Regions from separate parts of the Homo sapiens genome. Here region 2 is linked to region 1. The links are contacts of gene promoters, found by promoter capture Hi-C in blood cells and fetal thymus (Javierre and others, 2016). All regions are on one chromosome and are shown on one strand. Each heading gives the region's core, a stretch centred on a gene start or on the middle of the fragment in contact. The rest is flanking DNA. Distances are from core to core; before and after follow the strand shown. Region 1 holds the start of CLTCL1 (clathrin heavy chain like 1). Region 2 holds the start of PI4KA (phosphatidylinositol 4-kinase alpha).

The links. The method cuts DNA at HindIII sites, captures the fragments that hold promoters and counts their contacts. A CHiCAGO score of 5 or more calls a contact.
Region 2: a contact is called between the fragment with the promoter of PI4KA here and the fragment with the promoter of CLTCL1 in region 1, in 5 of 17 cell types (activated CD4 T cells, total CD4 T cells, fetal thymus and 2 more). The highest score is 7.9, in activated CD4 T cells.

Annotation. Positions count from the first base shown.
Region 1 is chr22:19,289,058-19,293,463 of GRCh38, reverse strand. CLTCL1 (clathrin heavy chain like 1) reads left to right here and starts at 1,745. Exons shown (of 33, transcript NM_007098.4): 1 at 1,745-1,864. The coding sequence starts at 1,823. It overlaps LOC105372859 (a long non-coding RNA gene), which reads right to left and starts at 1,517. Exons shown (of 6, transcript XR_938002.3): 1 at 1,134-1,517. RefSeq lists silencers at 1,627-1,866, 1,748-1,932 and an enhancer at 2,043-2,556. The HindIII fragment of the contact is 6,040 bases long and covers 1-3,222 here.
Region 2 is chr22:20,856,645-20,861,050 of GRCh38, reverse strand. PI4KA (phosphatidylinositol 4-kinase alpha) reads left to right here and starts at 2,240. Exons shown (of 55, transcript NM_058004.4): 1 at 2,240-2,481. The coding sequence starts at 2,326. It overlaps SNAP29 (synaptosome associated protein 29), which reads right to left and starts at 2,044. Exons shown (of 5, transcript NM_004782.4): 1 at 1,704-2,044. The coding sequence starts at 1,940. RefSeq lists an enhancer at 1,313-2,122 and silencers at 1,802-2,561, 2,582-2,631. The HindIII fragment of the contact is 10,120 bases long and covers 1-4,406 here.

The DNA of each region.
Region 1 (4,406 bases), core at 496-2,995:
TTGTGCTTTCTGTCTCTTCTATGGTTTGAAGAGACAGAAAGATTTGTGTCTCCTCTAAAATTAATGTTGAAACTTAATCCCCACTTGAGGTCCCGACGTATTAACAATCCTGTCACTTTGCTTAACTATGATTTTCTTAAATTCTTTCTTTTAGGGTATAAAATTTTAGTTTTAATCCCCAAAAAGCCCTGGGGAAGGTGATTTAGGGAGTGATGGTATTAATTACTAAAAAATTTATATAATGTTTGGGGTAAAGGGTACTTGGAGTCACAGGCATCATTGCCAAAATAAAGAGATTTGGGAAATGTAGTACTAACCACAGCAAAACCCAGCTCTATATTTAGCGGATGAGGCCACATGGATTTTAGAAAGGGCGGGCTGCAGAGGTCTTGGCTAATACTGGAAAAGAGATTTAATTTGAAAGTGAACAGTCTGTTCTATTCCTTAACATATTTTTGGCTACTAGATGGTCAAGCCATTGCGCAAATAATTGCACCATCCTTGTCTTATTCAAGGTGGGCCGTTCATTTCTTAAAATTACCAGTGAGCAACATGGGAAGCAGCAGAGACGGCTATCGATTACCCCGTAGGGAGTGCCTGTGCTGAATGCCAAGGGCTTCCCTTTCCTGACAGACATCTTTTATGCAGCTGAATCATCTGTATGCAAAACATCAGCCAACGGTGCCTCGGAAAAACAACTGGCTGCTGGGCAAACCAGGTGTGGGCTCCAGCTTCCACCTGCTACTACTGTCGTGCAGCCACGGGCACTCTGGGTGATCCTCACTGGCCTGGGGCTGGTCATCTGCTGCTAGATGACCTTCGCTGACTCTCTACATTGATATTCCGACACAGTGTTCTCTAGAAACCGCATGAGCCAGGAAAGGTGTTTCCTAAAGGAGCAGGGGCCGAGCCTCACGCCGAAACACGTCTGTAACACGTACAGTCACGCGTCCCATGCATCCATGCATTCTGAGACATGCGTCTCGGTTGTGGGATCATCACAAGGTAACTTACACAAACTCAGATGGCACAGCCACTACACAACTAGGCAGCTGATGCGGTCCGCTGCTGCTAGGCCGCAAACCCGCACCGCGTGTGAGGTGCGTTATTCCCCTGGCACGGTAATGACATACCTGTACGTGTATCTCCAAATACAGGAGAGGAAATGTCCTTAGCTAAGCCCTCACCAGAGGACAGGAAGTTTCCAGCTCCGTTATCATGTTATGGGACCACCGTCATATACACGGTCCTCCTCAGACCAAAAGGTCGTTCGTTATACGGCACATGTGGTTCTTCCAAGACCCTTTTCCATCTTTCTGTCACATCCGTGCCTGAGTAAAAAGTGGCCCTGAACTCAACCGTCCAGAGTTGGCGGCAGAACTAGCACCACTGGCCCGCTCCACATGTGGAAGGCGCTGGGCAAGGGCCGCCGCAGACCCCATCAGGATTAATCCCCCGAAAACCTTTCACTCGGGTAGCTGGCACACACCGCGTCAGGGCAGAGGGCGCGCGGGACTACTTTCCGCGGACCCTCGGAGCGGGCGGAGGGATCCGCGCAGGCGGGACGGGGCAGAGGCGGGGGCAGGGGCGGGGGCAGGGGCGGGGGCAGGGGCGGGGCAGAGGCGGGGCAGGGGCGGGGCAGGGGCGGGGGAAGGGGCGGGGAAAGGGGGTGCGGGCCGGGGCGCGGTCAGGGAGGAGGGCGGGGGCCAGGACCGGGAGCTCGGGGCACTGCGCCTGCGCCGTCGCCACCGGTCAGCCCGCGCGAGGGGTCGGCGTTCATTCCTGCCGCTGCCGCCGCCGCCGCCGAGGTCCCGCACCAGCCATGGCGCAGATCCTCCCTGTTCGCTTTCAGGAGCACTTCCAGGTGAGGCCCGGCGGGCTGGGGGGCTGCCCTGTCAGCCGCGCCTCCGCCGGGCCGGACTGCCAGGCTTGACCCCGCGCCCCCAGCCCCGCTGAGCCGCTGCCCAGCTGGCCGCGCCGATTTCCGACCTCCCACCTGGGCTGGGGCTGCGGCGTCCCGGGCGCGGCGGCCGCTCCTGAGGACCCGCTTGGGTGCCGTCGCCGAAGCCCGTTACCGGCGGGGCCGGCTGGGGAATGGTGGGGGTGGAAGCCAACGCCCCCTGGGACGCCCCGCTCAGTGCCCGCGAGGAGGCACACAAATTCCCGCTGCAGGCAGGGCAACCCAAGGGCCGCGCGGATCCCACAGCTCCACGCCCCTCCTTGGCGTCCTGCGGTCCTTATTCGCCCCTGAGTTTGCCTCTGTGATCGGTTTTCGTCCCCAGGGCGGCTTCGCCTGGGAGGACCGTGAACATGCGTGACCCAAGAGAAAAATTTCTCAGGGCCAAGCCTAAATAGGGCTTTTCAATGCAGTAACACCCCCAAAGCCTGCCTTTTTAATAAGGTCCCAGTTTGTTCTCCATTTGTTTGTGTTCAGAAACATAAGGACTGGCCCCCTGCTTTGAGCAAAGGCTCAGGTCGGGCGTCGTGCGGGCCGCTCGCGGGTCTGCCCGGGAGCGGTGCTGGTCCCCACGTTTACCCTGGGAGGTGCGGCAGAGGAGGGATAGCCAGCGGCTCCTCCCTGAGTGCTCTGTGTTAAATCATCACACTACCATTCGTTGCGATTCGCTTACTCTTTTCTAGATGAGGAAACCGAGTCTCAAAAGTGTTAAAGAACTCATCTTCATTCAATAAGAACAGGATTCAGACTCAAGTCTTTTTGACCACAAAGTAGTACATCGAGGAACGTGCTTGCTTGAAAGTTCCTATTTTCACAGTGCAGAGCACTGTTAGCCCTAGATGCAGACGGGAAAAGCCTTGGGAACTGTGTAGTGCAGTCCAGTCCCCTCATTCTGCAGACTGGAAACTTGATATCCAGGGGATCCTGCCAGGGTCACTTGGTTAGTGACACAGTGGAAGTTGTATGGAGGTGGGAGTGCCCTGACATCTGTCCGGGCTTCATTCTGCCACTAAGCTAAGCCAGCACCAGTCATGTTGAGGTAGCAAAATACTGCTGCTGCTCATAATAATGATGATGATGTAGTTATCATTTACTGAGCCGTTTCTCTTGCCACTCACTAGACTACTGTATTTTATAAATCTGGTTTAATTTAATCCTCATGATAACTGAGGCAGATAGTGATATCCTGTTTTCTACCATGGGTCACTGAGGTTAATATTCTAATTCCTTCAGCAAAAGTTACATGGCTAGTAAGTGACAAAGCTTGAGTTCTAACCCAGGTCTGATTCCAATGCCTGTGCTTAACCACTATCTAAATATGTTCTTTTCAAAGGGCAAGAAAGCAACAAGATATTTTAGGTGTCCATCAGAGTTTCTAATGTCCATCAGGATTTGTAATGTCCATCAGAGTTGATATGTTCCATTATCTGGAAAATGCTTGTGGCTTGTGGTGGGCAGCCACGTGAATGCAAGTCTGGTTTGTGGTCTCTAACACTGACTGGGTCTTTGAGGCTGCTGTGCATTCTGTAGAGCAAACACTGAGTCAGCACACACTGCCTTCACTACAGACATTTCGAGACTTCAGCCTGTTCCTTAAATCCCTGATCCTGCCACTCCTGCCTTGCAACCAGCAGATGACTTGGAGAAAACTGAAGCCATAACTGGGATGTTTCTCACCTATATGGCTGCAGACTTAGATGTTTGTCTGCAGCCACCCTTTCCTGCCTTCCTGTTACCTCAAAAGTAGGTGTCCTTTCTTGTCTATGTTCTGGATCTGGTATCCTTCTTCCCTATAAGGGAGCCTCGTTCAGTCATAGCCTCCCTTTCCTGTATTTTCATCCTTCTGTCTTGTTGTTTCTTCCTGTTTGTGTTGGGCAATGCTCACCTCTCTTCCATCTGTACAACCAGCAAACTTCTTCCCCCGCTCTTGTCCCCACGAAGCTCTTGTCTCATAGCTGGATGTCATGAAAGAGCTGCTTTAGTGCTTCATTATTTTTATGTTCCACAGTAACCTGCAGTCTGGCTTTTGTCCCCATTTTTTCCCCTGAATCTGTTTTTGCCAAGGTTACAAGCCATCCTGCAGGCTTTTTTGTAAGGGCCACATTCTGTCTCTGTCCCATATTCTTACATTTTTTAACCTTCTAAAAATATGAAAAAGACTTTTAGTTTAGCCATACAAAAGCAGGCTGCAGTTGGCTAATCTTTGCTGTAAAAAATAAAATCAGGCCGAGCATGGTGGCTCACACCTGTAATCCCACCACTTTGGGAGGCCGAGGCGGGTGGATCACCTGAGATCAGGAGTTCGAGACCAGCCTGGCCAACATGGTGAAACCTCGTCTCTACTAAAAATACAGTATTAGCCGGGCGTGTTGGTACGCACCTGTAGTCCCAGCTAGTCAGGAGGCTGAGGCGGGAGAATCTCTTGAACCCGGGAGGCAGAGGTTGCAGT
Region 2 (4,406 bases), core at 991-3,490, 1.6 Mb before region 1:
AACAGCAAGGGGAAATGATAGCGTGTTGCTCTGTCGCCCAAGCTGGAGTGCAGTGGTATGAACATGGCTCACTGCAACCTTGACATCCTGGGCTCAAGCGGTCCTCCTGCCTCAGCCTCCTCAGTAGCTGCACTCACATGTGTGTGCCACCATGCCTGGCTAATTTTTCAAATTTTGTAGAGACGCAGTTACCCCTGCTGGTCTCAAACTCCTGGGCTAAAATGATCTGCCTACCTCAGCCTTACAAATTGTTGGGATTACAGAAGTACAACCGCGCCTGGCTTATACATTTTTTTAAACCTTTTTTTTTCTCTGTCCAAACAAAACTGTTTCATTAGCAGGCTGAAGAGAGACTGTGGTGTACAATAAAGAATCATTCTCGACCGGTATGGTGGCTCACGCCTGTAATCCCAGCCCTTTGGGAGGCCAAAGCGGGCGGACTGCCTGAGGTCAGGAGTTCCAGACCAGCCTGGCCAACGGGGCAAAACCCTGTCTCCACTACAAATACAAAAAAAATTAGCCGGGTGTGGCGGCGCACCTGTAGTCCCAGCTACTCGGGAGGCTGAGGCAGGAGAATCGTCTGAATCCCGGAGGCGGAAGTTGCAGTGAGCCCAGATCATGCCACTGTACCCAAGCAAGGGCGACAGAGCGAGATTCCATCTCAAAAAAAAAAAAAAAAGAAAAAGAAAAAGACCCTCCAGGATCTCGGTCTGTTGCCCATGCTGGAGTGCAGCAGCACGATCTCAGCTAACTGCAACCTCTGCCTCCCGGGTACAAGCGATTCTCCTACCTCAGCCTCCTGAGTAGCTGCGACTACAGGCGCACCGCCACACCCGGCTAGTTTTTTTTTTTTTTTAATTTTAGTGGAGACAGGGTTTCACCATGTTGCCCAGGCGGGTCTCGAACTCCTGAGCTCAGGCGATCCGACGCCTAGGCCTCCCAAAGTGCTGGGATTACAGGCGTGAGTCACTGCGCTCGGCCAGAATAATTGTTATTGAAGGTACTACTCTCTGAAATCTAAGGATGGGAAGAACTGATGAAGATGAGTTGGAGCAACAAACTCTTAACCCGCACACTATTTGTCTAGGATTTGGGAAGTAAAGGTAAGACCCTGGACTCAATCAAACCCAGGCTTTGGTCAACTAGGCAGCTGTCTGGGCTGAAGGGACTTCAATACCTCTATTGGTTGGTTAGGTGGAGATGTCAATGATGCGGGAAGAACTCGTGGACCACCTGCCCTGATGCTTCAGGGTATCACCTGACACTCGCAGGCACATAGTCCTCTCTTTCTGGCTCACTCCGGAAGGAATGGCCAAAACCCTGTGCCAGATTTTGCACAGGAAATAATGTCGAAGAAACGGACTCTCCATTTCCCAAACCTAGGACCTGCTGTTCAGAATTTTTACTCACCTGGACAGAAAATAATCTGGCGTTTCCCCGTGAGCTAGGCGTAAGAAAAAAAAAATCAACGAAGCAGACTAATAGCTAAGGAAGATTTCTGGGGTAAACTGCCCTCTTCAAGTACTCCAGATGCACATACCTTTACATAGTTAACAGATTGTTACCACCATCGAGTCACTAAGGTGCAAGAATCTATGCTAGGCAACTTGAGAATTCTCAAAAGATTGTGAGCAAAACATTTCTCGTCTCCGTTTGACAGCACAGAGACCGGCGAGTCCACACCAGCCCTGCCCCAGGCTCACCTCGGAAGAGGCGACCCCAACCTTCTCGGACTCGTACATGAGGGCCAGGGACCTGCTGGTGCTGGCGGCCGTGGCCTCAGCCCTGCGGAGGACCTCCTGCCGCAAGTACTGCTGCCTGTCCGCGGGCGCGTCGGGCCCGTCGGGGAGGTCTCGGGCGTCCCTCCAAGGGGCCGGCCGGGCGCCTTCGTCCTCCCCGTCGTCGTCGAACGGATTGTAGCTTTTAGGGTAAGCTGACATGGTGCCGGCGCGGCTCTCGGTCTGGGAAACAGAAGGAGGAGCCCCACTGCCGCCGCCGTCCAGGGCCTCGCCCCGCCCGCCGACCCCGCGGTCGTCGCGCGAACTCCTTCCGCGCGTCGCGCGCAGGTGGCCCCGCCCTCGGAGCCGACCATCGCGCAGGTCGGCTGGGGGGGGCCCACATCCGGCGCGCGCAACCGCAGCCTACTGTCCATCCCCTCTCTCCCCTGCAGCGGTGGGCCCGCCCCGCAGCCACGCCCTATCTAGTGTCAGCAACTGAGAGGTCACGTGGCGGGAAAGCCGGATGCACCTACGCCTGCGCCCTGAGGTCGGGCGCTCGCGGGCCAGGAGCGGGGAGCCGGCGGGCAGCGCCGCGGCTCGTGAGGTGATGGCGGCGGCCCCGGCCCGGGGAGGCGGAGGCGGAGGCGGAGGCGGCGGCGGCTGCTCCGGCTCCGGCTCCAGCGCCTCGCGGGGCTTCTATTTCAACACGGTCCTGTCACTGGCCCGCTCCCTGGCGGTGCAGAGACCAGCATCCTTGGAGAAGGTAACGTCGGCGGGCTGGGCCGCGGGCTGACAGGAGGAGGGGCTGGGGTGACGAAGCGTGGAGGCGGGACGAGGGTCTGTGGGAGGCCGAGGCTGGGCTCGCCGGCAGCCTGTGCGGGAGGGGGCGCCTGAGCGGAGGGATCTAGCGGGGGAAGGAGGCCCTAGTGGGAGGGGCTGGTGAAGAGAGAGGGACCGTGGGGGAAGGGTCGGCGGGGCCTGCAGGGCCGCTGCAGGTGGGTGGTTGTGGGATGGGGGTGGGGGATGTGAGCTGCTGGCCCAGGGAGCATCTTGTGACATCGCGGAGGTGGAGGCTGGATCGTGGGCGGCTGTGCGGAGCAGTGGGATGAGCCGAGGACCAGGGGTCAAGACCTGGGGTTCTGCTTCCGATTTCACCTGCTTTTTATTCCGCGACCTTGGGAAGATGGCTTTCTTGTAAAATGGGGATGCTTTTATCTGCTTTGCCGGCTTCACCGGACTGTGGTGACCAGGAGACGAAACACTGTCTTGAAAGTGCTTTGTGACTGTAAACCAACTGCGCAGTGTTATTCTACGAGGCTGGGGGCGTTAGGTTGGGTAAAAGATTGTGCGTTTGCAGAAGGGACAGTGGCAGGGAAAGGAGAGTGAACTGTCAGTGGGCAGAGAAGTGAACTTGGAATTGCTTCAGAAGAGAAAGGTGAAGTCATGCCAGAGCAATCCTCATCTTGGGAGAAAGGTGAAAGGCAACTCAGTGGTGTGCCTTGAGATCTGGAAAGAGACAGATTTTAGAGTGGGACCTGAATTTGTTCCCTGCACTGGCACTTACTTACCATGTCCTCTTGGGTAAATTTAACTCTTAGAGCCTCTGTATCCTTATCTGTAAAATGAGGTTGTTCTTGAGAATTAAATGAGTTCTAGCATAAAGCATCTTGCACAGGTCAAGGCACAGAGTGGGTGAGCAGTAAATGTCAACTTTCTTTGCCCACCCGTGTGCGATGAGACTCAGCACAGTGTTTAGCTCTGAAAGGATGGAATTATTTTCCCACTCAACTTTTTGGCACATGGAGAGAGGATGTTTTCCGACAAGATAAGACAGTGGTGACCGGAGACCAGCCTGCTGCAGTTGGGAGTGGTTTTGTGGCTGTCTGCTGATGGATGAAGCTGAAAGGCTGTTTTAGGCACTTTTGGCAGAGTGACCTGGTCCTTGGCCTTGTCGGTTCTCATATTTGATTTTATCATGCACCTTCGGGGTGAGAAGGTCCCGGCAGATTGGTGCTAACCTGACTTCTAGCTAAAGAGGGAGTACAATGCAATGGAAAGGACATGAGTTTGGAAAATGGAACCTCTGAATTTAAATCCTGTATCACTTGCTTTCACTAGTGTGACTCTAGACAGGTCAGTTCCCTTCTCTGATACTTTGCTATCTTCTGTCAAATACAAGGTAGTACTTCATAGGAGTATTGTGAAGAGCAACAAAAAGGCACGTGGGTACCTAATGTATGAGCACTGTTATCATTAGATAGTCTGACTAATGGAGTGTAGTGCTGTTTTATTGAATCAAACTCATGCTAGCTAGTCAGCACATTCGCTTCTTAGCAGGAGAGCCAACAAATATATCTTATGACTGATTGCTGGATTCTGGGAGGAGAGAGAAGAGAATGCAGTGAATTGGATGATCTTTAAGAAGCTGGTCCTGCAGCTCCAGCAGTGGTAGCACCCTTTCCACTCAGTAACTCAGAAAAGGGCACCTTGAGCTCAATTTGCTTCTTCAGCCATGTTCACTAGTCACGAGAACATTCTGTAATTGCAACATTCTTAGCTTTGTAGTAATAACTGCTTCAGTTGTCAAGATTATATTTTATGATGGGGCACGGTGGCTCATGCCTGTAATCCCAGCACTTTGGGAGGCTGAGACAGGCAGATCACTTGAGGTCGGAGTTTGAGACCAGC